Linked DNA regions of Homo sapiens: regions 2, 3, 4, 5 and 6 are each linked to region 1. Evidence: promoter capture Hi-C in 16 types of primary human blood cells and fetal thymus (Javierre and others, 2016). All regions are on one chromosome and are shown on one strand. Each heading gives the region's core, a stretch centred on a gene start or on the middle of the fragment in contact. The rest is flanking DNA. Distances are from core to core; before and after follow the strand shown.

The links. The method cuts DNA at HindIII sites, captures the fragments that hold promoters and counts their contacts. A CHiCAGO score of 5 or more calls a contact.
Region 2: a fragment that was not itself captured here is called in contact with the fragment with the promoter of DDX3X in region 1 in 2 of 17 cell types (naive CD4 T cells and monocytes); the score reaches 7.4 in naive CD4 T cells.
Region 3: a fragment that was not itself captured here is called in contact with the fragment with the promoter of DDX3X in region 1 in 1 of 17 cell types (naive CD4 T cells); the score reaches 5.5 in naive CD4 T cells.
Region 4: a contact is called between a fragment that was not itself captured here and the fragment with the promoter of DDX3X in region 1, in 4 of 17 cell types (erythroblasts, total B cells, naive CD8 T cells and 1 more). The highest score is 6.4, in erythroblasts.
Region 5: a contact is called between a fragment that was not itself captured here and the fragment with the promoter of DDX3X in region 1, in 1 of 17 cell types (naive B cells). The highest score is 5.1, in naive B cells.
Region 6: a fragment that was not itself captured here is called in contact with the fragment with the promoter of DDX3X in region 1 in 11 of 17 cell types (fetal thymus, erythroblasts, total CD8 T cells and 8 more); the score reaches 10.6 in fetal thymus.

The regions. Positions count from the first base shown.
Region 1 is chrX:41,330,705-41,335,746 of GRCh38, reverse strand. DDX3X (DEAD-box helicase 3 X-linked) reads right to left here and starts at 1,585. Exons shown (of 17, transcript NM_001356.5): 1 at 1,450-1,585. The coding sequence starts at 1,494. RefSeq lists an enhancer at 1,955-2,184 and a silencer at 2,275-2,764. The HindIII fragment of the contact is 5,677 bases long and covers 1-4,356 here.
Region 2 is chrX:40,568,711-40,573,752 of GRCh38, reverse strand. No RefSeq gene overlaps it. Among named protein-coding and RNA genes, the nearest start is that of ATP6AP2, 9.7 kb to the left of the region's middle. RefSeq lists enhancers at 2,544-2,623, 2,634-2,723. The HindIII fragment of the contact is 1,209 bases long and covers 1,803-3,011 here.
Region 3 is chrX:40,585,665-40,590,706 of GRCh38, reverse strand. ATP6AP2 (ATPase H+ transporting accessory protein 2) reads right to left here. Exons shown (of 9, transcript NM_005765.3): 2 at 1,591-1,721. Among named protein-coding and RNA genes, the nearest start is that of ATP6AP2, 7.2 kb to the right of the region's middle. The HindIII fragment of the contact is 916 bases long and covers 1,274-2,189 here.
Region 4 is chrX:40,660,848-40,665,889 of GRCh38, reverse strand. It overlaps MED14 (mediator complex subunit 14), which reads left to right. Exons shown (of 31, transcript NM_004229.4): 25 at 1,401-1,583; 26 at 2,730-2,965. Among named protein-coding and RNA genes, the nearest start is that of CXorf38, 16 kb to the right of the region's middle. The HindIII fragment of the contact is 1,807 bases long and covers 1,277-3,083 here.
Region 5 is chrX:40,687,395-40,692,436 of GRCh38, reverse strand. MED14 (mediator complex subunit 14) reads left to right here. Exons shown (of 31, transcript NM_004229.4): 15 at 120-254; 16 at 3,907-3,983. Among named protein-coding and RNA genes, the nearest start is that of CXorf38, 42 kb to the right of the region's middle. The HindIII fragment of the contact is 7,880 bases long and covers 1-5,042 here.
Region 6 is chrX:40,728,539-40,733,580 of GRCh38, reverse strand. MED14 (mediator complex subunit 14) reads left to right here. Exons shown (of 31, transcript NM_004229.4): 2 at 4,236-4,262. Among named protein-coding and RNA genes, the nearest start is that of MED14, 4.5 kb to the left of the region's middle. RefSeq lists a silencer at 3,161-3,210. The HindIII fragment of the contact is 7,459 bases long and covers 1-5,042 here.

The DNA of each region.
Region 1 (5,042 bases), core at 336-2,835:
GGGTAGAAAATGCTTCCAAAGGAACAGATCAATTCCTAAAAAATATTACATATGACTACATTAAACTATGTATTCAATTAATTTGTGCCACTAAACTTCGTCTCAGGATTATTCCGGAGTTTGTGAAATCAACGCTCCCCTAATCACAGTAGACAGTAGTTTATTTAAAAGCTCCGCATAACCCACACAAGAGCTTATCTGAAGCCTGGTGCCACTGTTGCGGTGGGATGCAGACTTCCTGCCACCAAAGTCCATAACCTTCTCCTCTCAAATCACACATCTTTCTCTCCTCTGCCCCTAAACCCTTAGAAGAGGGGATTCTGGCTAAGAGAAAAAACCCGGGGGCCTGGGACCCATTGCAAGATTCTACTCCACAGATAGCAACAAGTCAACAACAAAACTGTTTACTTCCCCCCTAAGCCGGGTGTTTTTCCAATGGCGGATTCCTGGATCACAGTCACTAACACGAAGACACTACCACAACCCGCGATGACCCCTCCACCCCAGAAAAACAACGCGGGACTCCCGGCTAACATACCACACAGGGACAATCTGGGGCAAGCAAGGAGGAGAAAGGGCCTCGCTGGCTCCCTAACCTCCCCGCCACGTCCAACCTCTATCTCCAGGGCCCAGCGCGCAGCGGCCAATTCCTGCCTCCCCTCCCCGCCCCCACCCCTCCCCCACTCCTCCCCAATCTTCTGCGTCACAAAACTTTCCACTCCGGAAACGCAGCCTCCCCGGCTGCGGCGCAGGGCCCCCGGACCCTGCGGAACCTGGGCTGAAGCGAAAAAGCCAGCGGAAGGAACCCGGGAAAAAACAAGAAACCCATTCCATCCTCCTTTCCAGGCCTTCGCCCGCCCGAGACCCGCCGTCTCCCGGAGGTGAGCCACAGCGCCGCCCAGCACCACACAAAAGAGGCCGCCGCCATTACCCCGAGCGAAGGCCGCCCCCTCCCACATTCCTGGGCCGCGTTCTACCCCTTGCTCGCAGGCACGCAAACACCGGGTGCCGCCAGGTCCTCCGGACGGGAATCCAGGCTGCGCCAGCCGTGAAGGCCGAAGCCCTCCAAGCCAAAAGGGCCTCCAGTCGCGTCCCGCCGCGCTGCGCACTCCCGCAAACCCCCCCAGGTCACTAATCAGTCGGGATTCGCGCATGCGCGTCCCCGCGAGAGCGCGCGCACTTCCTCCCCCTCCGCCCGCCTGCGCACGCACACACAAAAGCCGCCATTGTGCTCGTCCCGGGGACAATACAGCGGGCCGAGACCGGGCCCGGGCGACAGCCCCAACCAACATTCCTATCCCTCTATAGCCCCGGGGCACTCACACCCGCCAGCCCGGGGCACCCAGAAAATGAAAAGTAAGGGTGCCGGTTAGCGCTGCGCCATTAGCCAGGTTAGGTCAGGGGAGGAATTCACGCAGCAGCCAGCCCGGTGGGGTTCTTGCGGCTCACCTGCTGGTCCAGCCCGAGCGCATTTTCCACTGCCACATGACTCATCCCTGAAGAGTACCGAGAACTCGGAGTCTTCCGCTGCTAAGCGAGTGTTTGTTCCACCGCGAAGGCCCTCTCACGGGAGAACTGCGGCTCTGGAGCGCACCGCGCGGCCACGGATCTAATATACCCGCTGGAAAGCCGGCTACGTCAGCACGTACAACGTGTGCCCTCCCTCTCACACCGCAATTCCCTGTCGCGGCGACTTCTGCCCGGCTACTGCGCGCTCCCTCAGGTCTAAGCTCAAGGGATTTCCTACTTAGTCCTGTCGCCCCTAGCAGTCCTGCCTTGGAGCTTAGGGTGCGAAATGCTGTCCCAGTTCTCTCGAGCTACACTTCCCGTGCTCTCCGCTAAAACCCTAGTCTCAGCCTCGGAGTTCTCGAGATCTCGCGAGAACTTGCGTCTCCCGCTTTCCACCGGCTAAGACGCCTGAAAATGTTAACCTAGGCCTCTTCGCCCCCCTTTCCAACCTTACGCATTCGCTCCCCTTTCCAACTCTATGCACTCAGCTTTCGTTTTTCGTTTTTTTTGTTTTTGTTTTTTTTTTCCTAACACTGGCCTTCACTCTTCTTCCTCTCTCAGTTCCCGGGCTTGGAGATGTGGTGGGATTTCTCCGGTCTAATCTGCCCTCGCTCTTCCGCGGGTAGCCTCCCCTTAGTGGGAGCTAGGCAGATTCCCGAAACTGAGAGGGCGGCAGGCCACGTGACCGTAGGTGTCGCGTGCGGTGGCCATTTTGTGAAGCAGGAAACGGTGGCTTGAATATAGAGTGCTCCGGACGGGGGAGGGGAGGGGAAGAGGAGGAGAGAACAGAGGGAAGGGGAGGAGAGGGAGGGAAAAGAGGGGAGCGGAGTAAGGGGAAAGGAGGAGGGAGGAGGGTAGGATGGTGACCGGGGCGGGAGTCGGGGGGAAATGGAGGGGAGCCGGCGGCGCGCGCAGGTGGCCGGACACCTTCCTGCGCGGTTGCCTAGGCAGCGGGGGCGCCGCCTAGAAACACACAATGGCCCCTCCTGGCCAACCCCCCGACGTGTGCGCGCGCGCCTCCGCCCCCGCCCCCCGCGGTGAGGGAACAATGAGACAGACACGCGCTGATCCGGAACCGCCGCTGGCGCGCCCTCCCGGGACCCCGGCTCTCCGCAGGAATGCGGGCTACATTTGCCCCTAGTTTCCTCCCGCGGGGCGCCCAGCGGCTTAGGGCCGGTGACCACCGGCGTTGCGGGGACCCCGCGGGTGGCGAACGGCTCTTCTAGGGCCCAAGGGTGTCGGGAATGTTTGTAGCCGGTGCAACCTGGGCCTGCCGGAGGGGCTGCAGCGGGGTTACCGGCCTGGGCTCGGGGTGACTCTCAGGCCGCTGCGGTGGATGAGGAACAGGAGGAACCGGGTTTCTACCGTCGGTGGAACCTCTTCCTGTGGTTCCCTCCTAGGCAGGCCACCCCAAGTCCCGGCTTCGGTGCCGCAGGCCCTTAAATAGAAGAAGGTGTTTACTAGTGGATTCCCGGCTTTGAGCCGGCGCCCGCACATCCGTAGTTTCTTATGACCGCTTTCCCCTCTCTTCTGACCCTCAGCCCTACGAAATTAAATAAAACGCAGTGGTTTCCACCACCCCCACAAAAGGTCTTCTGCTGCCAGAATTCAAATAGTTCGTGCTCATCACATAATTTACTATACACATAACTTCTCTCCCTTCTCAATTTTTAAAATCGAGACGGAAATTCGAACGAGATAGGGAGAGAATATCACACTGTCGGGGGCAAGTTGTTTAACGGCTTTGGGTCTCAATTTGCTCATCTATAAAAGGAGTCTGCTACATTCCATAACCCTGTGAAAGACCCAACTCCTTTTCATAACGAGTATTTTCTAACGCCCCCTTTACCTATACTGAAATAACAAAACCTAAATTGTTTATGTAAACCTACAAACACAATTTCAAAAAACATGATCTGTCAACAAACGAAAGCAAAATGATTATAATAAAACAATGTATTATAATATGTAAATGCCGCCGCACAGCTACACTAACTGGTGGGAAGACACTTGCCCAGTAGAGCCACAAATGCAAACTGGAAAGGTGTGTTGATTTCACAACTCAAGTTCCATGAGCAGCATTGCTACTAGGAACCTCATTTTCCAAAATGATGAACTATTAATAATTTTTAAATAAAACAGTACAATCTTCCTTCAATTGAAACAGTACCTGCATTTGTGGAAAATTCAGGATATATGGAAACTGGGCAAAGATACTTTGTGTTCATATGTAAAACAGTGTTAGTTCTAGGCTTAGATGATAATGAACTAGTTTTTCACCGACATGTGTCCAGTGATTCAATTATTCGCTCTGTGGGACTGACCAGCATCATAGAACATCCTAGCGTGCCTGGCTCCTGCCCACTAAATGCCAGTAGCTCTCGCCAGTCATTGTGACAACCAGAAATACACAGATTTCTACAATGCCCCTTGGAGAGCCACTAGGTTTAATGATATTAGGGTCCCTTCCTGCCCTGAGATTCGTGGATTCTCATGGAGTTTTGGTGAAGGACCTCGGTTTTGTTTCAGTTTCGTTTTCCTATGAACCAGGGTAAACATGAGTCAGGTTCGAAAACTGTGAGTTCCGACAGCTCTTCAAACTGCATATAGCAACAATGGGATGCACTGACTACCCTGGTTCTGGGCTTTGTTTTACTTTTGAGTAGAGCCGAGTACAGGGTACCGCCATGGGAGTACCTAAAAGAATTGAAATATACAGCAGTTCCCTATTTTCAATTAACCCCTGCTCATAGGCATACTTGGTTCAAACCACCAGGGTATTTTGTTAATCAATACGTTATAATTGGAATATCCAATTGGAGAGGAAGCGGGAAAACATACAAAGCTTTGTCTTTAAACACATTCACTTTGAAAAAGAATGATGTGCACACTTGAGGCAGCTAAATAAATGAGCCAACTTTCACAGCACTCCGAATGACTTTTCCGTTTAGCAACATTTGCATATTTTCTCCACATGGCAGTTATTTGCAAATTTTATTTGAAGTGACCTAAAAAAGGGTTAGAAATGGCTGAAACCAGGCCGGCCGCGGTGGCTCACGCCTGCAATCCCAGCACTTTGGGAGGCCGAGGCGGGCGGATCACGAGGTCAGGAGACTGAGACCATCCTGGCTAACACCGTGACACCCCGTCTCTAAAAAAAATACAAAAATTAGCCTGGGCGACAGAGCAAGACTCCGCCCCCCCCCAAAAAAAAAAAAGAAAGAAATGGCTGAAACCAGGGAAATTTTTTTTTGCACGCTCCCTTTCTTAATGTTTCCAGGCATTTTAACTGTTCATATTGAAGCAAATGTACTTCCTGCAACACCGCCCCCTCCCTCCACTTCCACCCCCATTCCTGGAGGTAGCGCAGTGAACCAGAGCCTGGGAATTGCAATTCCTCTAACTACCAGTTCAGCTCCCTGCTTACAGGCACCAGGCAACTCCCTTGACAGTGCCCTGGCTTCCTTATCTATAAAGTTGGAATAAAAGTAGTCTCTGCCTCCAAGAGTGTTTGGGATTCAAGGGCTTGTGCA
Region 2 (5,042 bases), core at 1,158-3,657, 760 kb after region 1:
ACTTTAGGGGACGCATTTAAACCATAGCATGTGGTAAGTCTGTTTTTAATTGTTTGAGGAACTGCCATATTATTTTCCTTAGAGGCTGCACCATTTTACAATCCCATCAGCAGTGCACAAGGGTTTTCATTTTGTCACATCCTCAGCAACACTTGCTATTTTCTGAGTTTTTTTTTCTTTTCTTTTCTTTCCTTTTTTTTTTTTTTTTTTTTTGATAGTAGCCATCCTAATGGATGTGATGTCAACCTTCTCTTTTGCATCAGCTGGTTTGATTGGGTGTCTGGGGACTTGTAACCAAAATATTTTTGGCTAAAATGAGCATGTTGTCATCTGGACACTGCTTGCTTATTCTTATTCTTATTCTTATTCTTATTCTTATCCTTATTCTTTTCTCAGGCTCCCTATATACTTCCACTGACAAACCTCACCTTCTGATGAGTACATCCTTTTCTTAAGATCTGTCAGCATTTTTTTTTTTTTTGTGACAGAGGCTCGCTCTGTCACCCAGGCTGGTGTGCAGTGGCATGATCCCGGCTCACTGCAGCCTCCGCCTCCCCAGTAGCTGGGATTACAGGTGTGTGCCACCATGCCCAGCTAATTTTTGTATGTTTTAGTAGAGACAGGGTTTCTGCCATGTTGGCCAGGCTGGTCTGAAACTCTTGGCCTCAAGTGGTCTACCTGCCTTGGCTTCCCAAAGTGCTGGGATTACAGGTGTTAGCCACTGCGCCTGGCTTGATTTTTTTTTTTTTTAAGACAGAGTTTCACTCTTGTTGCCCAGGCTGAAGTGCAATGGTGCGATCTCGGCTCACTACAACCTCCACCTCCCAGGTTCAAGCGATTCTCCTGCCTCAGCTGACGGGCTAATTTTTGTATTTTTAGTAGAGGCGGGGTTTCACCATGTTGATCAGGCTGGTCTTGAACTTCTGACCTCAGGTGATCCACCTGCCTCAGCCTCCCAAAGTGCTGGGATTACAGGTGTGAGCCACCGCGCCTGGCCTGAGATTTTTTTTTAAATTAGAGATGGGGGGTCTCACTTTGTTGCCCAGGCTGGTCTCAAACTCTCGGGCTCTAGCAATCCACCCTCCTTGGCCTCCTAAAGTGCTGGTATTACAGGTGTGAGCCACCGAGCCTGGCCTTACTTGATATATCTTGTTTTCCTGACTAAACCCCGACTGAGGCAGAGGACAAACCTATTTCCAAGTTTTAGTGGGCACTTCATCTCATTGAGACACTGGATACTGACTTCAGTGACTTTGGGATAGTTCTTCCCAACTCCCCTGAAAAAACCTAATCAAATGCAGAGTGTCTTCTGAATCTATGGTAATAGAAGTCAGAATATTAATTATCTCTGAAGGTGAGGGAGGCTGACTTGAAGGGCATAAGGGAACTGTCTGGGGTTCCGGTAATGTTCTGTGTCTTGATCTAGGTGGTGGTTACATGAGGGATATACATAGGTGAAAATGCAATAAGTTGTCCACTTAAGACTCATGCAAGTTAGAGTTCGTAGCTGTGTGAAAGGGAGAAAAAAGATGTAAGCATGTAACCATATCAAATTGTATCTAAAAACTTTCAAAAGTAGGGTATTCTCAGTTTGCACCTAGTGGATGAGTATATTTAAACTCACATGAATAGGAAACATTATTTGTGAATTTGTTCATTCACTATTCATTCATCCCTTTATTTAATATTGTGTGTTTATAATGCACTGTGTGAACACTGGGCCCTGATAACTTCAGAGCTAAATCTTAGGGAAATAAACTGAGAATTTATGTCCCATCTGAAGGGGTAAAGAAGAAAAAGCTTATTTCCACGTGGTTCAGCTCCAAGTTAGCAGTGCCCAATGTGCACAGAGCACATTGTAAGCACACAGCAATGGATGAAGGAATGAATGAATGAATGAGTGAATGAATAAATTAACAAATGATGGTTTCTATTATCCATAAGTATGAAATGGAGGGAATTTTCTGGGAGTAAAAGGATCACAGTAAGTTCAATTTCCAGATGTCAGAGGCATTTGAACCAGAGTGACTCCATCTTGAATGGGGCTGGGTGAAATGAGCCTGAGACCTACTGGGCTGCCTTCCCAGAGGACTAGGCATTCTCAGTTACAGGATGAGATAGGAGGTCCGCACAAGATACGGGTCATAAAGACCTTGCTGATAAAGCATGCGGTAAAGAAGGCTGCCAAAACCAAGATGGCCATGAAAGTGAACTCTGGTCGTCCTCACTGTTCATCACATGTTAATTATAATGCATTAGCATGCTAAAAGACACCCCCACCAGCACCATGACAGTTTACAGATGCCATGGCAATGTCAGGAAGTTACCCTATATGGTCTAAAAGGGGGAGGAACCCTCAGTTCCAGGAATTGCCCACCTCTTTCCCGGAAAACTCATGAATAATCCACCCCTTGTTTAGCATATAATCAAGAAATAACTATAAGTACTATCAGTTGGGCACCCTAAGCTGCTGCTCTGCCTATGGAGTAGCCATTCTTTATTTCTTTACTTTCTTAACAAACTCGCTTTCACTTTATGGACTCGCCCCAAAGTCTTTCTTGCTCGAGATCTAAGAACTCCCTCTTGGGGTCTGGATCTGGACCCCTTTCCGGTAGCACAGATAATTACAAAAGCAAAGACAGGGCAAGATTTCATCTCTGCTACAACTCTTTTTAAGACAGAATCTCTGGAGCTGACAGGAGCTGGTTGAGGTGCTTGATGTCGTGAGCAGGTCCTCTATTTCCTCCCACCAGCTCCGCTTCTGTCTCTTCTGCCTTCCCCGTTCCGCTTTTAACCCATGATTCAAAAAACCACAGCCTGATTCCCTTTCCTCCCAGCATGTGGCTGCCCACCTTCTTTTTCTATAATGGGCTGCTGATTGCTGCTGTGGAAATTCCCCTACCCCTGGGAAGTGGCTGTCATGTGGGCCCTCAAACCTGCCTGACCACCCTTTCTCCTGCCCCACTCACTGCTTCCTCCCTTCCTCCCCATCCCTGCAGCTGTTTAAAGCTTCCAGCAGTCTTCAAGCCCCTCCCTCCTCTAGGGAGATCACACTCCAGCTTCCCCCAGTTATGGAGCATCGTCCTGCTGACCATAGGGGAAAGAGTCTAGACTCGGGAGTGTGAATTGGTCATTAAGGATCCATTACCAGCCTCAGGAAAACAACTGTGCTCCCTCTTCTCTCATCACCTCTGGTAGCTACTTCCCCTTTATGAATGCGATGACTTATTAATGAAAAATCTTCAGTCTCTAGATACCCTTCCTCATCCCCAGCAGGGCCATTCCAGGAAACCTGCACCTAGCGGCCTGCGGGAGCACCTTGCACTGACCCGCTCTTGGGTATTAGGGAGAGCCTACAGAGGAGCATGGAAGCCTGGCTTTGCATTGTCATTGTCCTCACCCATTTCTTCTGCACAGAAGTTGAGTTCTGTTTGCACTAGGTGTGGCACTGGGGATGGGGAGAGAAGGGTGCCTCAGACTGAGACTTCACCCTGGAGGAGCTTACAGCCCCATGTTCCTAACTCTCGTGGTGTTCAGACTTCTCGTGCGGCATTTGCTCTCTCCTTCATCCACAGTTCAGCTTTCCACTTGGTGCCCGGTTCAACTTTCCAGTTAGAATTTGTTTGAATGAGCTTTTTATTTTAGAATAGGTCTCAATTTATAGACAAGCTACAAAGATAGTGCAGAGAATTCTCATATACTCTACATCCAACTTTCCCCTATTGTTACCATGATACATTAGTGTGGTATATTTGTCAGAACCAATATTAATGTATTAATAATAAAGTCCATACTTTATTTATTTATTTTATTGGGATGGAGTCTCGCTCTGTCTCCCAGGCTAGAGTGCAGTGGCCCGATCTTGGCTCACTGCAACCTCCACCTCCTGGGTTCCAGAGATCCTCCCACCTCAGCCTCCTGAGTAGCTGGGATTACAAGTGCCTGTCACCATGCCCAGCTGATTTTTGTATTTTTAGTAGAGGCAGGATCACGTCTCTGTGATCAGGAATTTGGGAGCAGCTTGGCTGGGTGGCATCTGGCTTGGGGTCTCTCAGTGCCACTGCAGTCAGACAGTGGCTGGAGGTGGTGTCATCTTTAAGGTTTCTTCACTCACATGCCTGGCACCTGTGCTGGAAAGACTCAAACATCTGGGGGCTGGAAGTGTTGGGGCATATTGGGCAACTCTCTCTCTATTTCTACATGACCTCTCCACACATGGACATTCTAGGAGGTGGCTTCAGGGTAACCAGATGGATTCCATGGAAACTCTGGATTCCAAAGGCTAAGGTGTGTGTCCCCAAAAGGAGAAAACCAGGTGGAAGCCATAGCACCTTTTATGAACTAGCTTTAGAAAGTCACTGAGCATCACTTCCTCTCTATTCTACTGGTCAAGGCAGATATAAGGGGCTGCCCAGGTTCAAGAGGAGGGAACATGGACCCTCCACCCATCAGTAGAGGCTTGTCAAAGTCAAAGTCACATTGTAAGAAGAGCCTGTGGATTCGGATATTTATTGGTGTGGCCATCTTTGGAAAATACAATCTGCCATACGGGTTTGCATATAGGTAAGGAGACAATGGCTGTCATAGCTAATGGAATACCATTTTACCCAACAATATATTATCAGCATCTCATCACATAATTATTATGCAACATCACTTTATAAAAAGTTTAATTTTTAAAATTTATGTTACCAAAGTAATGCATACTTGTGAAAAAAAACCTCAAAATACAGAAATGCATAAAGTAAAACATGGGCCAGGTGCAGTGGTTCATGCCTGTAATCCCAGAACTTTGGGAGCCCAAGGTGGGCGGCTCTCTTGAGGTCAGGAGTTCAAGAACAGCCTGGCCAACATGGTGAAACCCTGTCTCTACTAAGAATACAAAAATTAGCCAGGCGTGGTGGTAAGCGCTTGTAATCCCACCTACTCAGGAGGCTGAGGCAGGAGAATTGCTTGAACCTGGGAGGTGGGCAGAGGTGGCAGTGAGCCGAGATCATGCCACTGCACTCCAGCCTGGGTGGCAGAGCAAGACTCCATCTCAA
Region 3 (5,042 bases), core at 482-2,981, 750 kb after region 1:
GTCAAGTTTAAGGTTGTAAAGAACTAGATGGTCAGGTGTGGTGTTCACGCCTGTCATCTCAGCACTTTGGGAGGCTGAAGCAGGTAGATTCCTTGTGTCCAGGAGTTCAAGACCAGCCTGAGCAACATGGCAAAATCCTGTCTCTACAAAAAATATAAAAATGATCTGGGCATGGTGTTGTACGCCTGTGGTCCCAGCTACCGGGGAGGCTGAGGTGGGAGAATCTCTTGAACCTGGGAGGTGGAGGTTGCAGTAAGCCGAGATCAGGCCACTGCACTCTAGCTTGGGTGATAGAGCGGGACCCTGTAGCAAAAAACAAAACAAAACAAAACAAAAAAAGAATTAGGTACAGGCTGGGTGTGGTGGCTCGTGCCTGTAATCCCAGCACTTTGGGAGGCTGACGCAGAAAGGATTGCTTGAGGCCAGGAGTTAAAGACCTACCAGCCTGGACAACATAGCGAGACCCTGTCTCTACAAAAAATTAAAAAATCAGCTAGGCGTGATGGCATGCATCTGTAGTCCTAGCTACTCAGAAGGCTGAGGCAGGAGGCTGAGGCAGGAAGATCACTTGGGCCCTGGAGTTTGAGGCTGCAGTGAGTCATGCAGACTCAAACTCAGCTTGGGTGACACAGCCAGACCCTGTCTCTAAAAAAATAACTAGGTACAAATTTCATCCTTAAATGTAAACAACCAATCCTGTTCACTTTGGTTGCCCAAAGACTACAAAAAGCTCAGGGGCTCTGCCCTTAGGCCTGGCAGTGAAGCAGTTCCCAGGTAGAGTTTCTGTTTTCAAGGGTGCTCAGGATTTGGAGAAAAGTTCCTTTCAGTGACTGATGATATATATCTAGAGACCACATCAAAAGCACCAGACTTACAAAGAGAAGGAGATGATAGCACCGAGCAAGCTGTATTTCCTTTCTTCTGAGCCCTTACCTTTCGATCTCTCACATTGACTGGATCTAGACCCTCCCGCCCCCTACAATCACATAAGCAGCCAATTACTACAACAGGTCATAGCTCCATTCTAGGAAACCAAGGTCCTTGGCTGCCCCATGGCTACTGACCACATTATTTTCCTAACCTCAGGCATAATGCATATATATTTTATCATTCATAGTGAATCTATCGCCTATACTAAAAAAAAAAAACCAGAAAGTAGATATCCTATTAAGAGTAGGACAGATGCATTCTCTAATATACAAAGAATTTCACTACTATGAATAAATAATTATATAGTTAATGATTTCTAATGATTTGTTTCAGAAGCCAAGCTTGAAGCACTCATCCAAAATCTTCCCAACTACAAATGGGTTTTTAAAAAATTAATTCATTTATTTTTGAGATGGGAGTCTCACTATGTTGCCCAGGTTGGTCTCAAATTCCTGGGTTCAACTGAGCCTCCCACCTCGGCCTCCCAGAGTGCCGGGATTACAGGCGTGAGCCACTGTGCCTGGTCCAGATGAGCTTTTTAACTTTTGTAATCTGTACCAAACGTACCTACGTTCGTTTGATGCTTTTTTGGGCTATTAGCAGAAATCAGTAAAAATGTTCTTAAAAGCAGCTCCAAACATTTAAAAAATATATACATACTTCTTTCACAGAGAAGCCCATGGACAATGCAGCCACGTCTGGGATCCGCTCTCCTGGTATAGGCCAATTTCCATTTCGGAAAACAACAGACCCTGGTGATTTTAATATACTAAACTCGTTCCCCAAAACACCTGAAAAGAAAACAGATCAGTAAATGAATTATCAACATCATAAATCATTTACCTTGACAATTATTAAATATAATACATGTTTCCCCATTCACCACTGACTTAGCGTATTAAATTATGACTGGTCAAAATGCTGAGTCCTAAACAATAACAAATTCTTTTTCAAAGTATCACTCTAAGAATTTAAGTCCACACATTCTGCTGGAACAAAAGTACAACTATCAGAGCCTCTCTGAACCTATTCTGGTTCAGGGTCTGCCTGATAAGAACAAGAAACAAACAAAAGTCTCAAAAAGAGATCAACAAAGGTACAACTACAAAACAGGGTTTCCTAATGATATAGACACCTTCCTACTGATGGCTCTTAAAGAGGCATGTGGCAATTTGGCAGGAATTAGAAATCAGTGGCATATCTCCAAAATTTAAAAAACAAAAAACAAAGCCCAGGCACAGACTAAAAAGGAAGAAGCTTGAAATCTCTAAATTATTTCTACCATCAATCCTTTCTACACAATGCAAATTCATAAAGTTCCTATTATTTCACTATAAGATTTTACCAGGTTACTATGTCTTAGGATAGGTAACATCTTTCCTTATGTCCCATAGGCAACCCTAGTGAAATAAGGACTGTCAAATGTTGGGGGGGGGGGGGGGCATACATGTCACAAGTAGAAACATAAAAACACTTCAGACTTTAGAAACAAAGTCCAGGAAACAGTATTTGTAGTTGACATGTCAAGAGGGTAAGAAAAGGTATTCTGTAATGATAAAGTCAACTAGTCTAAGGATTCAGGATTAAAAGATAAAGATGAGAATAAAGGGACTATTTTATAAGCTCTCCACAGCTAAGGATGAGGTATTTGGCCTCTTCATCCATTATCTATTAACCTCGTGATGTCTAGCTTACACAGGGACAAGTAGCTAATTTCAGTTACTGAAAGGAACTTTTCTCCAAATCCTGAGCACCCTTGAAAACAGAAACTCTGCCTGGGAACTGCTTCACTGCCAGGCCTAAGGGCAGAGCCCCTGAGCTTTTTGTAGTCTTTGGGCAACCAAAGTGAACACGATTGGTTGTTTACATTTAAGGATGAAATTTGTACCTAGTTATTTTTTTAGAGACAGGGTCTGGCTATGTCACCCAAGCTGAGTTTGAGTCTGCATGACTCACTGCAGCCTCAAACTCCAGGGCCCAAGTGATCTTCCTGCCTCAGCCTCCTGCCTCAGCCTTCTGAGTAGCTAGGACTACAGATGCATGCCATCATGCCTGGCTGATTTTTTAATTTGGGGTTCCTATTAAAAAAATGGGCTCCAAGTCTAGAACAAATGTTAGCCACACCTAGTATGGGAAAATTAGACTTTAGTAAAGAATCAGTGTTATTCTCTTGACCTAAGGAAAGTACCACTAACAGGGGATGGAAATAAAGTTGGAAGCAACAGTAAATGTTTTGGTGTTGCAGTATTGACAGTAAATAAAAGGCTTCAGGTTGGTGCTGATACACGGGAGTTACAAATTTCAATCCGGCACAGCTGTCAGAACAGGAATGTCCAAACTGCTCTAGCTGAAGACAGACCAAAAAAATTAGCAGAATGGAATGGTCTTTTGTAACTGATAGATATCTTGGTTCACTAAAGTAGTAGTACTGCAAACACTAAGAAAAATGGGGAACCAAGAGACCTATGCTTCCCAAGAACCATACACATATTTTGTTTGTTTGTTTTGAGACAGAGTCTCACACTGTCGCCTAGGCTGGAGTGCAGTGGCACAATATTGGCTCACTGCAACCTCTGCCTGCCAGGTTCAAGCAATTCTCCTGCCTCAGCCTCCCAAGTAGCTGGGATTACAGGTGTGTGCCACCATGCCTGGCTAAATTTTGTATTTTCAGTAGAGACAGGGTGACACCATGTTAGCCAAGCTGGTCTCAAACTCCTGACCTCAAGTGATCGGCCCGCCTCAGCCTCCCTATGTGCTGGGATTACAGGCGTGAGCCACCGCGCCCAGCCCCAGGTACCATACACATTTAAAAAACCATATTTTGATTTGGAGATACCCTTGTTTTGAGACACGGCCCTACTCATTCAATTCTGGCAAACCTATACCAAATAACTTTGCCCCAGCTTCGTAGTTTCAACTTCCATGCCTGTACAACAGTCCTTCAGAAGCCCAGAGCTTTAGAAAACCTTAGAGTCAGGGACTCCTATACAGAGGAAGGTCATTTGTCCAAACTTCTGCTTATTATAAGTATAAGCATGTCTCAGGGATACCTGGCAGAAAGTCACCCCTCCTCTATTTCAATACTACCAGTGATGGGGACACCACCTCAATATACGAACTACATTTGCCAGCAACTGGCTCCATTTTCCTAACATTCTAGTCCTTTGAAAAGTTTTTCCTTGTACTGAACTGAAATGGGCTTCCTAACTTTCAACTTCCTATGCTATCACTCCCCAACTCAGTCTCACCAGATAACCTCATCTCCAGCTTCACAGAGAAAACAGAGGAATTTCTTGAGCTACCTGCTTCCTCTCCCCACCACAAATTTATCTGCATAAGCCCCTATCTGTAACTCCTCTCCCTCCAGACATGAGGGCAGGGATGTCCCTCCTCCAGACTAAGACAATCCTGTGTTCAGTCTTTTTAGGGACCTTTGTTCCTTCACTGTTTGTTAAGGAAGCCACTCTTCTAGGACAGACAACACATCAGGAGTGAGGTGGCTATATGGTAATAGCCATCAAAAGATGGCCCTATAGAATACAAGCTCCATGAAGGCGGGGATTTCAGTGCGTCTTGTTCACACACTATCCCCAGGGCTGAGAACAGAGCCCGACACATTGGTGCTCAATAAGTACTTGTTGAGTTAATGAATGAATGAAGTCACACTTCAAACCACCAGTTTTTTCCCTCTCCACTGGCCCTTTCACTTCAGCATAAAAATACGCTCAAGGCACTCCCATTCTATAACTAAAACCATAAAAAACCTCCTTTGGTCCTACCAGTCTCCACCAGCTACCAGCCTTGCTCCCCTTCAGAGGAAGAATCCAGGAAGAGCAGTCAACCACCGTTTGCTTCTATACTTCATTTTAAGTTTACTACTTAACCCACAAAATTTTAAAAATTTTTTTTATTTTTATTTTTTGAGACAGGGTCTTGCTGTCACCCAGGTTGGAGTGCAGTGGTAAGGATCTCAGCTCACCGCAACCTCCACCTCCCAGGTTCAAGAGATTCTCCTGCCTCAGACTCCTGAGTGGCTGGGACTACAGGCACGCACCACCACGTCTGGCTAACTTGTGTATTTTTTTGGTAGAGACAGGGTTTCACTACGTTGG
Region 4 (5,042 bases), core at 931-3,430, 670 kb after region 1:
GTTTAGAATGTTTCCATTTTTTCACAATTAAAAATGGTGCCATCTGTGCTCATATCCATGATTATTTCCTTAAGTAAGTTCCAGAAGTGGAATTGTTGTATCAAGGGATTTGACAAATTCTAAAGCTTTCGAAACATATAACTGCTCATCTGAAAGGCTGTACCATTTCCCATGCCATCATACAAGAATGTCTGTTATCCTGCATCATCGCCAGGGAGTATTACATATTTTAAAGACCTTGGACATTTTCATAGGTGAAAAATGGTATCTTACTGTTTAATGTATTTCTTTATTAGTGAAGAAAATTGAACCTTTTTTGGTTGGTCTTTGGTTTTTTTGTTTTGTTTTGTTTTTTTTGAGACAGAGTCTCACTCTGTTACCCAGGCTGGAGTGCAGTGGTGCAGTCTCAGTGCACTGCAACCTCGGCTTCTCAAGTTCAAGTGATCCTCCTGCCTCAACCTCCTCCCCAGCAAAGTAGCTGGGACTACAGATGTGCACAACCACGCCTGGCTAGTTTTTGTATTTTTTTGTAGAGATGGGGTTTTGCCGTGTTGCCCAGGCTGGTCTCGAACTCCTGGACTCAAGCAATCCACCCACCTCAGCCTTCCAAAGTGCTGGGATTACAAGTGTGAGCCACCGTGCCTAGCCGGTCTTTGGTGTTTCTTATTTTATACCTCCCAGTTATATATGCTTTGCCTATGTTCTTGTGTTTTTTCTTGCCCATTTGTAAGACCTAAGTAAAGACCATTTACTCTCTGACATATACATGGTAAAAGTATTTTTTCAGTTTGTCATTTGGTTACAGAGGGATATAAATAATATGTTGAAGGTATCTGGAGGATGAAATTTATTTATTTTTTATTTTTGAATATCTTCGTAGATACCAATGGAGGGTGAAATTTAAATATCAAATTGTTCAGGAAGTCACTGCTTTCAAAACTTGAGTCTTGGTTCATTTCTTAGTCAACGTAGTCTAAATAAAGAATATGGAAAATTTCCTTCTCCTCATTCTACTTAGAGTAGAATGAAAATATGGTTTGTCAAAGTTGGTTTAAAAATATAATATTTCTGCCTTTAAAGGAACTCTGAGATTGTTTGCTTAATATTTTAATGCATATAGTAGCATACATTGTTACATATTACATACATTGAAGCTTGTGTGAAGGTAAATTTTATCCTCTCTCAAGCTTTATATTTTTCTAATTTTTGTATCATGTTAAAAAGTACCTTACACAAAATAGAGATTCAGGCATGACATGTTAACACACATCAAGCTTCAGTGAAACATCTTATTGGAAGAAAAAATAAAATTATTACTGTGTAAAGATTTGAATGCTGTCAAATAATTTTCAGTTATTAAAATATAGGTTTTGAGAATCATTTGTTTACCTTTTTTATAGGAACTCTTGACCCTAGTTCCCCATACACTATGGTGTCACCAAGTGGACGAGCAGGGAACTGGCCAGGATCTCCTCAAGTGTCTGGCCCCTCACCAGCAGCACGCATGCCTGGAATGTCACCAGCCAACCCCTCACTACATTCTCCGGTTCCAGATGCTTCTCATTCCCCTCGAGCTGGAACAAGTAAGTATCATCAACATTTTTATGTTCTTTTTTAGTATAACCCAAAGTGACCTATCTTGTTGCATCCTCACATTTGAAAGTCATGACCTACTTTTTGAGAGAGGATACTTAAAGGATATTACAAAGGATGCAGATGAAGAGATGCATAAGGGGAGTGCAGTTTCCATGCCCTCTGTGAGCCTTCACATGTTTGCCTATCTGGAAGTTCTCCAAACTCTGTCCTTTTGGGTTTTTATGGAAGTTTCATCACGTAGGCATTATTGATTAAATCACTGGCCACTGGTGATCAACTTTGGGGGTGGGGCTGAAACTACCAACCCTCTAATTGTGCCGTGTCTTTCCTGTGATCAGCCCCCTTCCTGAAGCTACCTAGGGGCTGCCAGCCATCAGCCATCTCATTAGCATACAAAAGGACACTTAACCACTTTGAAGAGTCCAAAAATTTTAGGATTTGTATGCCAGGAGCTAGGACAAAGACCAAATATATATTTCACAATATCACACATAATAACAGAGAAGAGAATTGTACACATTTATTGGTTAGCTTTTGCTACATTTAGTGGCTTAAAACAATATATGATTGTTATATATTGGTTCACAATTCTGCAGGTTGGCAGTTTAGACTAAGCACAGCTGAGTGATTCTTTCAGACTCTGCTGGGCAGCTCACTCATGTGTCTGTAGTCAGCTGCTGGGTTGGTTTGGGACTAGATGGCCTCAGATGGCAAGGTTTCTCTCTGCTTTGTGTGGTTTCACACTTGATCTGAGGTTTGTTCACATGGTGGCTCAACAGGATTTTAAGGCAGGGAGTAGAAGCTGAGGCCTACAACTAGCCCAGTGTCACTTCCACCACATTCTGTTGGTCAGAAGCAAATACTAGGCCAGCCAGGTTTCAGGTGGAGAAATAGAGTCCACCCCTTAAAGGAGTTGCTGCAAAGTCACATTGCAAGGGGCCTGGATATAAGAAGGAGAAAAATAGTGGCCATTTTTGCTAACAGGTTGTTAATATATGATTGTTACACCACAAGGAGTAACTAAAACAGTACAGAATGATTTAGAACATCAAAGATTTATGATGAAAGCAAAACAGGAAGCAATGAGATAGTATGTATTTGTAAATGACATAACATGTTTTCCTTCCCAAAAGGTTCTCAAACAATGCCAACAAACATGCCTCCACCTCGTAAACTACCTCAGCGCTCTTGGGCGGCATCCATACCTACCATCCTCACTCACAGTGCCTTGAACATTTTACTGCTGCCCTCTCCAACTCCAGGCCTTGTGCCCGGCCTGGCAGGTAGTTACCTTTGTTCTCCACTTGAGAGATTCCTTGGATCAGTCATCATGAGACGACATCTTCAAAGAATTATTCAACAAGAAACGGTATGGGTACCTAATGACCTTCTAAGTGGTGATTGTTAAGGGTAAAATGCTAAATTGTCCTGCAGGATAGGATCTGAACTAACGTGACATTCCTTCACCTTCCCTCCTTTAACAAGCTTGTTAGAATTATGATTTTCACCCTAACCTGGCATTAAAAATGGACTCCATTATTTTCTTTTCCATTCTTATGTTAACATATTTCTGCATTATACAGTTTGCTGTGCTGTGGCTTCTATGTTATATGGCTAACATGGACCTGGAGATAGATTTCTGCAGCACACAGGAGCACTGCGCACAGGATCTGGCCTTGCAGAGAATAGCATACCAGTAATTATTTGCCTTCTGGAGTGCCCGTGCGGGGAGGCTGATTTTGACTCTGAGTCTTTATTGAAATAAAATAATTGGCTGGGTGTGGTGGCTTATACCTGTAATCCCAGCACTTTGGAAGGCTGAGGCAGGAGGATCACTGAGCCCAAGAGTTCCAGACCACCCTAGGCAATATAGCAAGACCCTCTCTCTACAAAAAATTTAAAAAATTAGCAGGCATGCACCTGTAGTCCTAGCTACTTGGGAGGTTGAGGCAGGAGGATTGCTTGAGACCAGGAGTTCCAGGTTACAGTGAGCTGTGATCATGCTGCTGCACTCTGTCCTGGGTGATCGAGTGAGACCCTGTCTCTAAAAAAATAAAAAGAGAAAAAAAATTTGAAGAAAATTATTTATGGTTACAAGGACAAAAGCTTCTTTTTAAATATGTGAACAGGACGGGCACGGTGGCTCACGCCTATAATCCCAGCACTTTGAGAGGCTGAGGTGGGCAGATCTCTTGAGGTCAGGAGTTCAAGACCAGCCTGGGCAACATGATGAAACCCCGTCGTCTACTAAAAAATACAAAAATTAGCCAGGCATGGTGGTGCGCACCTATAATCCCAGCTATATGGGAGGTTGAGGCAGGAGAATTGCTTGAACCTGGGAGGCAGAGGTTGCAGTGAGCCAAGATCGCGCCACTGCACTCCAGCCTGGGCAACAGAGTGAGACTGTGTTTCATAAATAAATAAATAAATGAACAATTGAATTTTTAAAAACTCTCGTAGAAAAAAGACTTCTAAAAAAAAAAGAAGAAAAGAGACTTCTAACTTATCCTATGCTGATAGCCTTAGGAGATAATTTATAATTGAGAGCACCAGTTCTACAGTCAGGCTGCCTGGGTTTGTAGCCAGCCATACTACCTGCTAATGTGTGCTTAGGCAAATTTCTTCAGATAATAGTATTTACCTAACTGATAACAGTTGTGTGAATTTGAGATAGTTCATGTAAAGCCCTTAATATACTGTCTAGGCATTTTCATTATTTATAATTACTGTTATTATTGGTAGATGCATGTGCTAATGAGGTAGTCAAAATGGTGAATGTTTAGGCCGGGCACAGTGGCTCATGCCTGTAATCCCAGCACTTTGGGAGACTGAGGCGGGCGGATCACTTGAGGTCAGGAGTTTGAGACCAGCCTGGCCAACATGGCGACACCCTATCTCTACTGAAAATACAAGGCCAGGCGTGGTGGCTCATGCCTGTAATCCCAGTACTTTGGGAGGCTGAGGCAGGCGGATCACTTGAGCCCAGGAGTTCGAGACCAGCCTGGCCAACATGGTGAAACCCCATCTCTACTGGAAACACAAAAATTAGCTGGGTGTGATGGTGCACGCCTGTAATCCCAGCTACTTAGGTGGCTGAAGCATGAGAATCATTTGAACCCGGGAGGCAGAGGTTGCAGTGAGCCGAGATCGTGCCACTGCACTCCAGCCTGAGCAGACAGAGCGAGACTCTCAAAACAAACAAAAAACAAAAATTATCTGGGTGTGGTGGCACATGCCTGTAATTCCAGCTACTCGGGAGACTGAGGCAGGAGAATCGCTTGAACCTGGGAGGTAGAGGTTGCAGTGAGCCGAGATGGTGACACTGCACTCCAGCCTGGGCAACAGAGCGAGACTCCGTCTCAAAAAATAAAAAAAGAATTAAAAATGGTGAATGTTTAAAATATTCACTCCATGTTTAGTGTAAAGCCATTTTGCAACCTTCATAC
Region 5 (5,042 bases), core at 1,307-3,806, 640 kb after region 1:
TAACATTTGTTTTGGTTAACCCTGAGCTTTCTTCCAGTATTTTAACTATCTTAATGAATTGCATCACATGTACTTTTTTTTTTTTTTTTACCTGTTTGTGTTCTTTACTTAAATTCTAGTTGTCTGATGATCCATGTCCAGTAGAATCCAAGAAAACAAAACGAGCAGGAGAAATGTGTGCCTTCAATAAAGTTTTAGCCCACTTCGTCGCTATGTGTGATACAAATATGCCATTTGTAGGACTTCGGTTGGAGGTAAGTTTTTTGGAACAGTTCTGGATACCCCAAATGAAAGAGTAGTTTTTAAAATGTGTTGCTGAGGGTATATATAGATTCCATTAGGAAAAGCAGAATGTTTGTGATCCTGTTCATTTTGGGAGGAGTGGTAGGGTTACAATCATAGCATCTAATGGTATACATGTAAAACATGACTTGAATTATTTCATCTCTCTGATTCCAGATTCTGGGTCTTCTGCTCTTTATGGAAATTGAATGTAAAATTTTCCCAGTTAAAAAAAGTGGACAGGGCTGGGCACGGTGGCTCACACCTGTAATCCCAGCACTTTGGGAGGCCGAGGCGGGTGGATCACTTGAGGTCAGGAGTTTGAGTCCAGCCTGGCCAACATGGTAAAACTTTGTCTCTACTAAAAATACAAAAATTATCCGGGTGTGGTGGCACACGCCTGTAATCCCAGCTACTTGGGAGGCTGAAGCAGGAGAACTACTTGAACCCAGGAGGTATAGGTTGCAGTGAGTCAAGATTGCACCACTGCACTCCAGCCTGGGCAACAAAGCAAGACTCTGTCTCCAAAAAAAAAAAAAAAAAAAAAGATTAAAAGAAAAAGTGGACAGGCTGAGTGCAGTGACTGATGCCTGTAATCCCAGCACTTTGGGAGGCCAAGGTGGAAGGATTGCTTGAGCTTAGGAGTTCAAGACCAGCCTGGGCAACATAGCAAGACCTTGTCTCTTTTAAAAAAATTAAAGAAAAGCAAGTGGACAGTTTTTAAGAATTAACATTTTACTTTTATACCTCTTAGTAGGAGCATTGTTTAAGCCTATTAGAGATGGTTAGTTGATAGCCAGGTGGCTTATTTTTGAGTTGGTAAAGCCATGTATATTGATTAAGCCCTAGTAAAACCGGGATCCTTTCTAAGAAGCAGATCAGAAAGAATATTAAACTAAATTTTTACTTTTCTCACATGGGAGAAGCAATAGATTTATGCAGAATTAGTGCCTTGAAAGAATACGCAGTTGTGATATCCAATATAATCCTCAAACGTGAAAGGGAGGTAACAGACCTGCACTTTTTGTATTTCCAAAAAGGAGTTTGGCCAAGGATGGGTAGCCCCTCAAAAGTGATACACTAAAACCCCAGTTATTTCCCTGTAGGTTAAAGTTTTATGTTTTGTAAGAATCCCCTCCTCTGTAAGTTATTGTGAATGAAGGAGAGACCTGGAAATGTGAAAATGGACTTTTTCAGTTGGGCTGATGATGATGGCCTTGGGAAGATTTGTTGAAAATAGCTTTCATGCTTTAGAACAGGGATTGGGAAACTTTTTCTGTAAAGAGCCAAATATAAATATTTTAGACTTTGTCGGTCAAGTGGTCTCTGTTATAGCTACTCAAATCTGCTGTTGTAGTGTGAACCAGCCAGAGCTGATATTTAAACAAATGAGCATGGCTGTGTTACGGTAAAAAACTTCATTTACAAAAACAGGCAGTGGGCCGGGCACGGTGACTCATGCCTGTAGTCCCAGCACTTTGGGAGGCCGAGGTGGGCAGATCACCTGAGGTCAGGAATTTGAGACCAACCTGGCCAACATGGTGAAACCCCGTCTCTACTAAAAATACAAAACTTAGTCAGGCATGGTAGCGGGCGCCTGTAATCCCAGCTACTCGGGAGGCTGAGGCAGGAGAATTGCTTGAACCTGGGAGGCGGAGGTTGCAGTGAGCCAAGATCAAGCCACTCCAGCCTGGGTGACAGAGCGAGACTCCTTCTCAAAACAAACAAACAAAAAAACCAGGCAGTGGGCTGGATTTGGCTCATGAGCTGTTGTTTGCCAACTCCTGCTTTACAGGAATTTGGGATCTGTAGGCAGAGGATAAGGTGTGAAATTGTAAAGAGCCCAGAGAGAAACCCAAGCCTAGAAACAGGCACCTAAAATAAATACTCATGTCCTTGATGACCCAGCTCCTAGAACTGTGAGCCTGATGAATGTCCTCTTATCTGGATACTGGCCTTAGCTCCTAAACTGTGGAGTGTGTCCATGTTTCCTATGTAATTGACTGTGTTCTTGGACTCTTTTATTGTGTTATTTGGATTGATTATATGAATATCATTCAGTTACTACCTTTGCAGTGGGAAGGGAAGATGGATATGTGGTGCTGAGGCAAAGCAATGCATTTATATCCTCTCTTCCCCTACCCACAGGCCAGAATTGGCAAAAATGTGTGTCTTTGTAGGCCTACGTAGGTTAATGACTGTAGACATACGTCCTCTCTGTCCACCTTCTCTGTATTCCTATACCTGCTGCACATATGGGACACAGATGAACATTCTGTAGTTCTCTATTGAACTCAGTCAAGCTCTTAAAAACTTACCTACTTTTTATTCTCAGTGAACATTCTAGCTATGTTAAAGATAAAAGCAAGTATATTTTCTGCTTAAAGTAATTTAGGCTGAGATGTGAATAACTAAAACTAAATCTCATCTTATAAGGGATGTTTATATATCTTTTTTTTTTTTGAAATGGAGTTTCACTCTTGTCACCCAGGCTGGAGTGCAATGGCGCAATCTTGGCTTACTGCAACCTCCACCTCCCTGATTCAAGCGATTCTCCTGCCTCAGCCTCCCAAGTAGCTGAGATTACAGGCATACACCACCACACCCAGCTAATTTTTGTATTAGTAGAGACGGGGTTTTACCATGTTGGCTAGGCTCGTCTTGAACTCCTGACCTCAGGTGATCCAACTGCCTCGGCCTCCCAAAGTGCTGGGATTACAGGTGTGAGCCACCGCATCTGGCCGGATGTTTATATATCTGATTGATAGAATAGCAGCAACATTTTTGAGCTGGCCCACACTTCATTTCCTTTTGAATCTGAACCCCTACTTCCTATTTGGTAGCAGCTATTTTTCTAAACCTTTCCCTTTCCCAGGCCCAAAGAGCAGGGCTCACTCAAATACCTGGAACTTCCTTAAATCCTTTCCAGAACATGGTAGATATAAATAGTCTGTCATGCAAGACCTGGGAATATCTGCCAAAGGCAAGCATTTCTTTAGATCAGATGACTTTCTGGCATACTGTAATTACTTGCAGTCCCATGGAAAGGGTTTCAGGCACTATCTCTGCATTTATCTTTTTAATTTGCTTTCTGAATCCTTTAATTGGGAAAGAGATGTCATTGGGTAAATGCACAAATTGGAAATCTTTTCTTGGGTTTCACATAGGAAGTAGTTTAATTCTTAAAAATGTATTTCAGAAATGTTGTAAACTAAAAAATATCATTTAGAAATAAGCTATGACAGTGACTCAAACATTGTTTTGAACAAACAGAAGAGAATTACACGAGAAACCATTCTTGTGGCCTCTTGAACTACTAAAATTGATTCTAGATTACTTTTGGCTCCCTGCAAAAATTAGACTAATCTCCTAAATTTTGAATATTTGCCACTTGTGGAGGTGTTTCTTAAACTAGATGCACTGGGACAGCTTTGAGTTCCACTGGACTTCATGTCGTTTCCCAGGGAATCTAATGATGGGGATAATACTCATGCCTAATATGTTGTAACTTGGGGAAAGGATGGTCCTAGAACAGGTGCCACAAGAATAGAGACCGTAGTACTTAGAAATGGTAGTTGTTTTTGTAAAATTGGTCGTCTGATATAATTGTTTTTCTCTTTCTAGTTGTCCAATCTGGAGATTCCACATCAAGGAGTGCAAGTGGAAGGTGATGGCTTCAGCCATGCAATTCGCTTATTAAAGTAAGCCCCTGTCATATGTTTCACTTGGTGCCACATGTTGCAGTCACACTCTGAAAGCTGCTTCTCTTTCATGAGACAACATAAAGCAGTGTTCAGAACCTGTGGGTGTTGTGGATTTCTGCATAGAGTTACTAGGGTCTGGGGGAAGATTCCTTTAATCTATGGAGTGGCAATCCAGCATCACTTGGTTTTGTTTTTTTTGTTGTTTGTTTGTTTGCTTGTTTTGAGACAGAGTCTCATTCTGTTGCTCAGGTTGACTGGAGTGCAGTGGCATGATCTTGGCTCACTGCAGCCTCCCAACCTCTGCCTCCTAGGTTCAAGCAATTCTCGTGCCTCAACCTCCCGAGTAGCTGGGACTACAGGCACACACCACGACGCCCAGCTAGTTTTTGTGTATTTTTAATAGAGACGGGGTTTCACCATGTTGACCAGGCTGGTCTCGAACTCCTGGCCTCAAGTGATCCACCCACCTCGGCCTCCCAAAGTGTTGGGATTACAGGCATAAGCCACTGCACCTGGCCTCACTTGGTATTTTTGGATGTCTTTTCTCTGCATTTCTTTGATTCGTTCAGCAGATATGCATTGAGTGTGACTGTGTGTCAGGCTTGAATTCTGACATCCCCTCAGAATGCTGTGGGTTCATAAAGCAGAGGAATATGGGCTAGTTCAGAAGTCAGGAAGGGTATCCCTGAGGAAGTACCAGTTATACTTGGACTGAAGGAGAGGTGAGAATTAGTCAGAGGAAAGTGGGGCAGAGGCAGTGGGAGGTCCTAACCAGAGGGATAACTGCTAATGTGAAGGCTTGGAGGGAAGAGAGAGCTTGGCATTTTTGTGCTGAAAGGAGTTCGGCATGGCAGGAGATGGGAGAAATGAGGCTGGAAATGTACGCAGGAAGGGGTCACATCCTTTAGGCCTATGTAAATGTCCTTCAACAATTTAGGCTTTATCCTAATGGCACTAAGAAGCTATCAGATGATTTTAAGCTAAAACTGACATCATTAGATAGGTGTTTTTGAAAGCTCAACCTGATAGCAATATGGAGAATAAATTGAATGGGAA
Region 6 (5,042 bases), core at 1,027-3,526, 600 kb after region 1:
AGCCACCTAATCCTTCACCTGTGTACTGCAATAGTCAGTTCACTGGTATCTCTGTAGTTCCCTTGCCCCTTCTATAGTTTCTTCTCCACAAAATAGCCAGGATGATTCTTTTAAAATTTCTCTGCTTAGAACCCTTCGATGGTTCCCCATCTCACTGAGATTAAAAAGTGTTGATAATTGCCAGGTGTGGTGGCTTATACCTGTAATCCCAGCACTTTGGGAGGCTGAGGCAGGGGAGGGGGTCACTTGAGCCCAGGAGTTCGAGACTCTGTCTCTACCAAAAATAGAAAATTAGCTGGGTGTGGTGGCCCAAGCCTGTAGTTCCAGCTACTTGGAAGGTGGAGGTGGGAGGATTGCTTGGGCCCAGGAGGTTCGCTTGAGCCCAGGAGGTTGAGGCTGCAGTGAGCATGTTCGCACCACTGCACTCCAGACTGGGTGACAGTGAGATCCTATCTCAAAAAAAAAAAAAAAAATATTGATAATCATCTGTATAGTGACCATAAAATTTATAGTCCAAACCGGGACACTTTTGAGCATAATGGGGCTGATGATAATAATGTCAGAACAAGAGGCATAAACCAGGACTGTCTTGGGCAAACCAGAAAACCAGAACATGTGGTCATCTTACCTTTAAGGCCTTACATGATGTGCCTTCTCTGTTCCTTAACCTTTTTTTTTTCTCCAACCTCTTAACCACTTTTGGTTTGTCCCTTACCTCTTTAACTGCATGTCCTGAAACTCTCCTCTTTGCTTATCCTGTTCCGACCACATTACCCTTCCTGATGTTTCTTTTTTATTTTTGAGACAGGGTCTCACTCTGTTGCCCAGGCTGGAGTGCAGTGTGGCACAGTCATGCTCACTGCAGCCTCTCGACATGGGCTCAACTGCTCCTCCTGCCTCAGCCTCCCAAATAGCTGGAACTACAGGCATGCGCCACCACGCCCAGCTAATTTTTTTATTTTTGGTAGAGACAAGAGTCTCACTATGTTGCCCAGGCTGATCTTGAACTCCTGGGCTTAAGCAGTCCTCCCACCTCTGCCTCCCAAACCTTTTTTTTTTTTTGAGACAGAGTCTCACGGTGTTGCCCAGGCTGGAGTGCAGTGGTGTGATCTCGGCTTGCTGCAGCCTCCGCCTCCCGGGTTCAAGTGATTCTTGTGCCTCAGCCTCCCGAGTAGCTGCGATTACAGGCATGCACCACCACACCTGGTTAATTTTTGTATTTTTAGTAGAAATGGGATTTCACCATGCTGACCAGGCTGGTCTCAAACTCCCAACTTCAGGTGATCTACCCGCCTTGGCCTTCCAAAATGCTGGGATTACAGGCGTGAGCCGCTGTGCCCAGCCTCCAAACCTTCTTGATGTTTCTTGTTAGTGCCTAGCACACTGCCATCTTAGAGCCTTTGCTTTTTCCCTAGAAATCTGTGTGAATTGCTTTCTCATTAGTCCTTTAGGTCCTTGTTTACATACAATTTATCAGAAAGATTTTCTCTGACCACCTATAAAATAGTACTCTGCCCCTTCACTCTGTCCTTCTTACTTGCTGCTTTATTTTTCTTTACAGCACTTATTGCCACCTGACATTATTAGTTTGTTGTCCATTCCCACCCCATGAGGACAGAGATTTTGATTTGTTTGTGACTTTCCCTGGTGCCTAGAACAATGCCTGGCACACAGGGCTTAACTAAGTATTTATTGATTTAATACATGAATGAATGAATGTTTAGAATTGTCATAAATCAATATATGGTTTGATAGAAGAAATAATAACTAGTGTTTGATAACTCAGTAGGGTGACTAGTTTGCAAGAATCTACTGTACATTTCAAAATAGCTAGATGAGAATAATTCAGATGTTTCCAGCATAAAGAAAAAACAAATATTTAAGATGATGGATATCACAAGTACACTGATTTGATCTTTACAAATTATATAAATGTATGAAATTATATGTACTGTGAAACTGTACATGCTTAATGCATCAATAAAAATATTGTTCAAAAAGAATTGTAAACCATGGGAAATTTAATAGGAAAAGTTATTTTTGTTCTTGATACACAGGTATACAACTTTTTTCACTTTTGATTGTGGTAATTATTAATTAATTAGTTTGGGAACTTACCATGGAAGTTCCTAAATAGTGTATTTTCCCTAAAAACTGTCAGGATTAATATGTTAATGTAGAGCCAGTGTTCGAGGTATACTTTATGAGTCTTTAGGGAAACAGTTACTTCAGTAATATGTGATGCTTGTGTGTGAACTATTGAAGGTAAAAAGGACAACCTTGGCAACTTAGGTGGTTTTGTTTTGGTCTCAGATTTCTGGGTTTTTTCCTTCTGCTTGTCCACCTCCCTTCCCCCTCAACATACATGCTCTCATCCTAGAGTTTACTCTCTGCCTTGACTTTTTAGAGACCTAGGTTCTACTCTTTATTTTTTTTTTTTGAGACAGGGTCTTGCTCTGTCACCCAGGCTGGAATGCAGTGGCACAATCATGGCTCACTGCAGCCTTGACTTCCAGGGCTCAGGTGATTCTCCCACTTCAGCCTTCCAAGTAGCTGGACTACTTGCCACCACACTTGGCTAATATGTATTATTTGTAGAGATGGGGTTGCCATGTGTGCCCAGGCTGGTCCCAAACTCCCGGACTCAAGCGATCTGCACCCCACCCCCCCGCCACCAAGCCTCCCAAAGTGCTGGGATTACAGGTGTGAGCCACCGTACCTGACCCCCCCGCCCCCTTTTTTTTAAACTTCTTTTAATTCAGAAAATGCCAGGATCTCAGTCATGTAATCTTGTCTTATTGTGCTTTGGTGTAAATAAGTTTCTATGCCTTACTTCCCAACATTTGCATTTTAGAACTTTTACTCTAAATGGTAGCTTTCTTATCCATAAAAGAATTTCAAATAGATTAGGAGGAATAGGGGAAAGGGGAGGCAGGCAGCAAAGCCTGTCTTTTGTCCCTGAACTGATACTACCGCTGACATGAGATGGTTCTTTTAGGGTCTCTGAGGCAGGTAGGAGGAGTGGGAACAATGATTCCTGTTCTTTCTACCCCCAGAAACTCTGCTCCCCTTCTCCCCTTATAGATACCCATCGTTCTCATTCTCCCCCTCCCTTGAGGTGAAAACAAGGGCTGTGGCTTCTCAAGGAGTGTTCTCAAGAGGTTTGGCTTGTAGAGGAACTTGCCAGTAGCTGCCTTTATTTGCAGTCTTCTAACAGGGCCTTAATTTCTGCTTCATCTCTCCGGTCTGCTGGCCCTTCCAGCCCCCACCTAGTTCCCTTTATCATTCTGACCATAACTTTAACTTCCATCTCACCGTCTACCCTAAGAGTAGGAGGTAACTATAAGCCAGAGATCATTTTAATATTTTCTCCTCCTTGTACTTTGAACCTCTGGAAGTAGTTTTAGTTTTTCTGTTCCTGTGGCACGTGGGTGGGAGACAATCTAAATGGCTGGGTGTGTGTACTTCAAGAACTGATTAGCTGTGGGAGAGGCATGAGAGTTGTTTAGGCCATTGAATCTTGGACTGTGGGATAGAGGTTAACAGAATGTGGCAATTCAGGAGGCATTAAGGATCTTTCTAGGCATCAGTGGATGTGAATGTTAAATGGTATAGCTTATCTGGGAAGAAGTTGACATTGGTTGCTGGCTATCAGTATTGGAGGACTAGCAAAAAGAAACTTAAAAATCCTGTTGGAGCTGTTTAAAAGCAATAAAAATTTTTCATCTAACCACCATGCAGCATAATTACTGTAAAACCCTTGACATACACTGGTCCTTTTGTATGCTTAGCTTCCAGTTTTGTCCACCATAACACAATGTGGAGGGATTATTGCTTGGAAACAGGTATCCATTGGATACAGGGAGGCTGGCAACCAAGTAGTAAGTTCTTCTGCATCTGTGACCATTTTGGTCTTAAAATAATCTTTTCTCTGACACCCTATGATATAGTGTGCTAATGTGGGACTTGGGCTTTTTAAATGTTTAAGGTTCATGCAATACATTTTGAAGTATTTTGAATGGAGAAAAATGTTCTTTTGTTGGTTTTTGCCTTATAACCATACTGCTGGAAACTCATAAATCTAAAAAAGAGTAGGTAGCTACATGAGCCTGTAGTAGCTGTTTACCCAGTTTTTCTGAAACATTAACGTATTTAATAGAGTCAAAGTAAAGACTATTATCACATTAGAATGAAGGTATGCATGTATCTAATCCGTTTTTTTTTTTTCTTCTTAGACTGCCAAGGAAATCTGATGTGGAAAGGTGAGTATGGAAAAAAAAAACCCTTAAAGTCTCTTTATTGATCAATCTATGAGTGTTGGTGTGTGGGTATGGGTGGTGTAGGGCTGTGGATTGGAAACCTAGGCCCAAAGAGTCTAGAATGATTTTTCACACCATGTATTTAGGGAGTCCTGGGAAATGTAATTTCCTCACCCTTAACAATACTTGTTGTGAGACCAGTTCTAAATCTTCTGTTCTACAAACCTTTATTGAGTGACTGACCTGGTCAAGTCCCTAAGGGTGATATTAAGATAAAGAAGGTATAGTCTGTAAAGGAAGATGCTGAGGAGCAGCAGACTGGCTTTAGAAAGTTGACTGCCACGGGCATAGTGGCGGGCGCCTGTAGTCCCAGCTACTCAGGAGGCTGAGGCAGAATAATTGTTTGAACCCAGGAGGTGGAAGTTGCAGTGAGCCGAGGTCACGCCACTGCACTCTAGCCTGGGCCACAGAGCAAAACTTTGTCTCAAAAAAAAAAAAGAAAGTTGGCTGCTAATTTATCACTTGCAACAATGATGCTATTAAGTATCTTTAGAGAGTTGACATTTGCCTACTGCTCCTACTGTTACATAGTTAACATTTTGGTTCAGTTGGAGCTTGGAGCTTAAGATTTAACTTAAGGCTAAAATGTTTCCAGAGGCCAAAGGAACAAGCGAAATTAAAGTTTCAAAGAAATCATTTGATGGAGATTTAAATTGTAACTAAAGTATATGGTACTTGACCGTATCTTTGGCACTACTTATGCTCCTTGGTTGATTTTTTTTT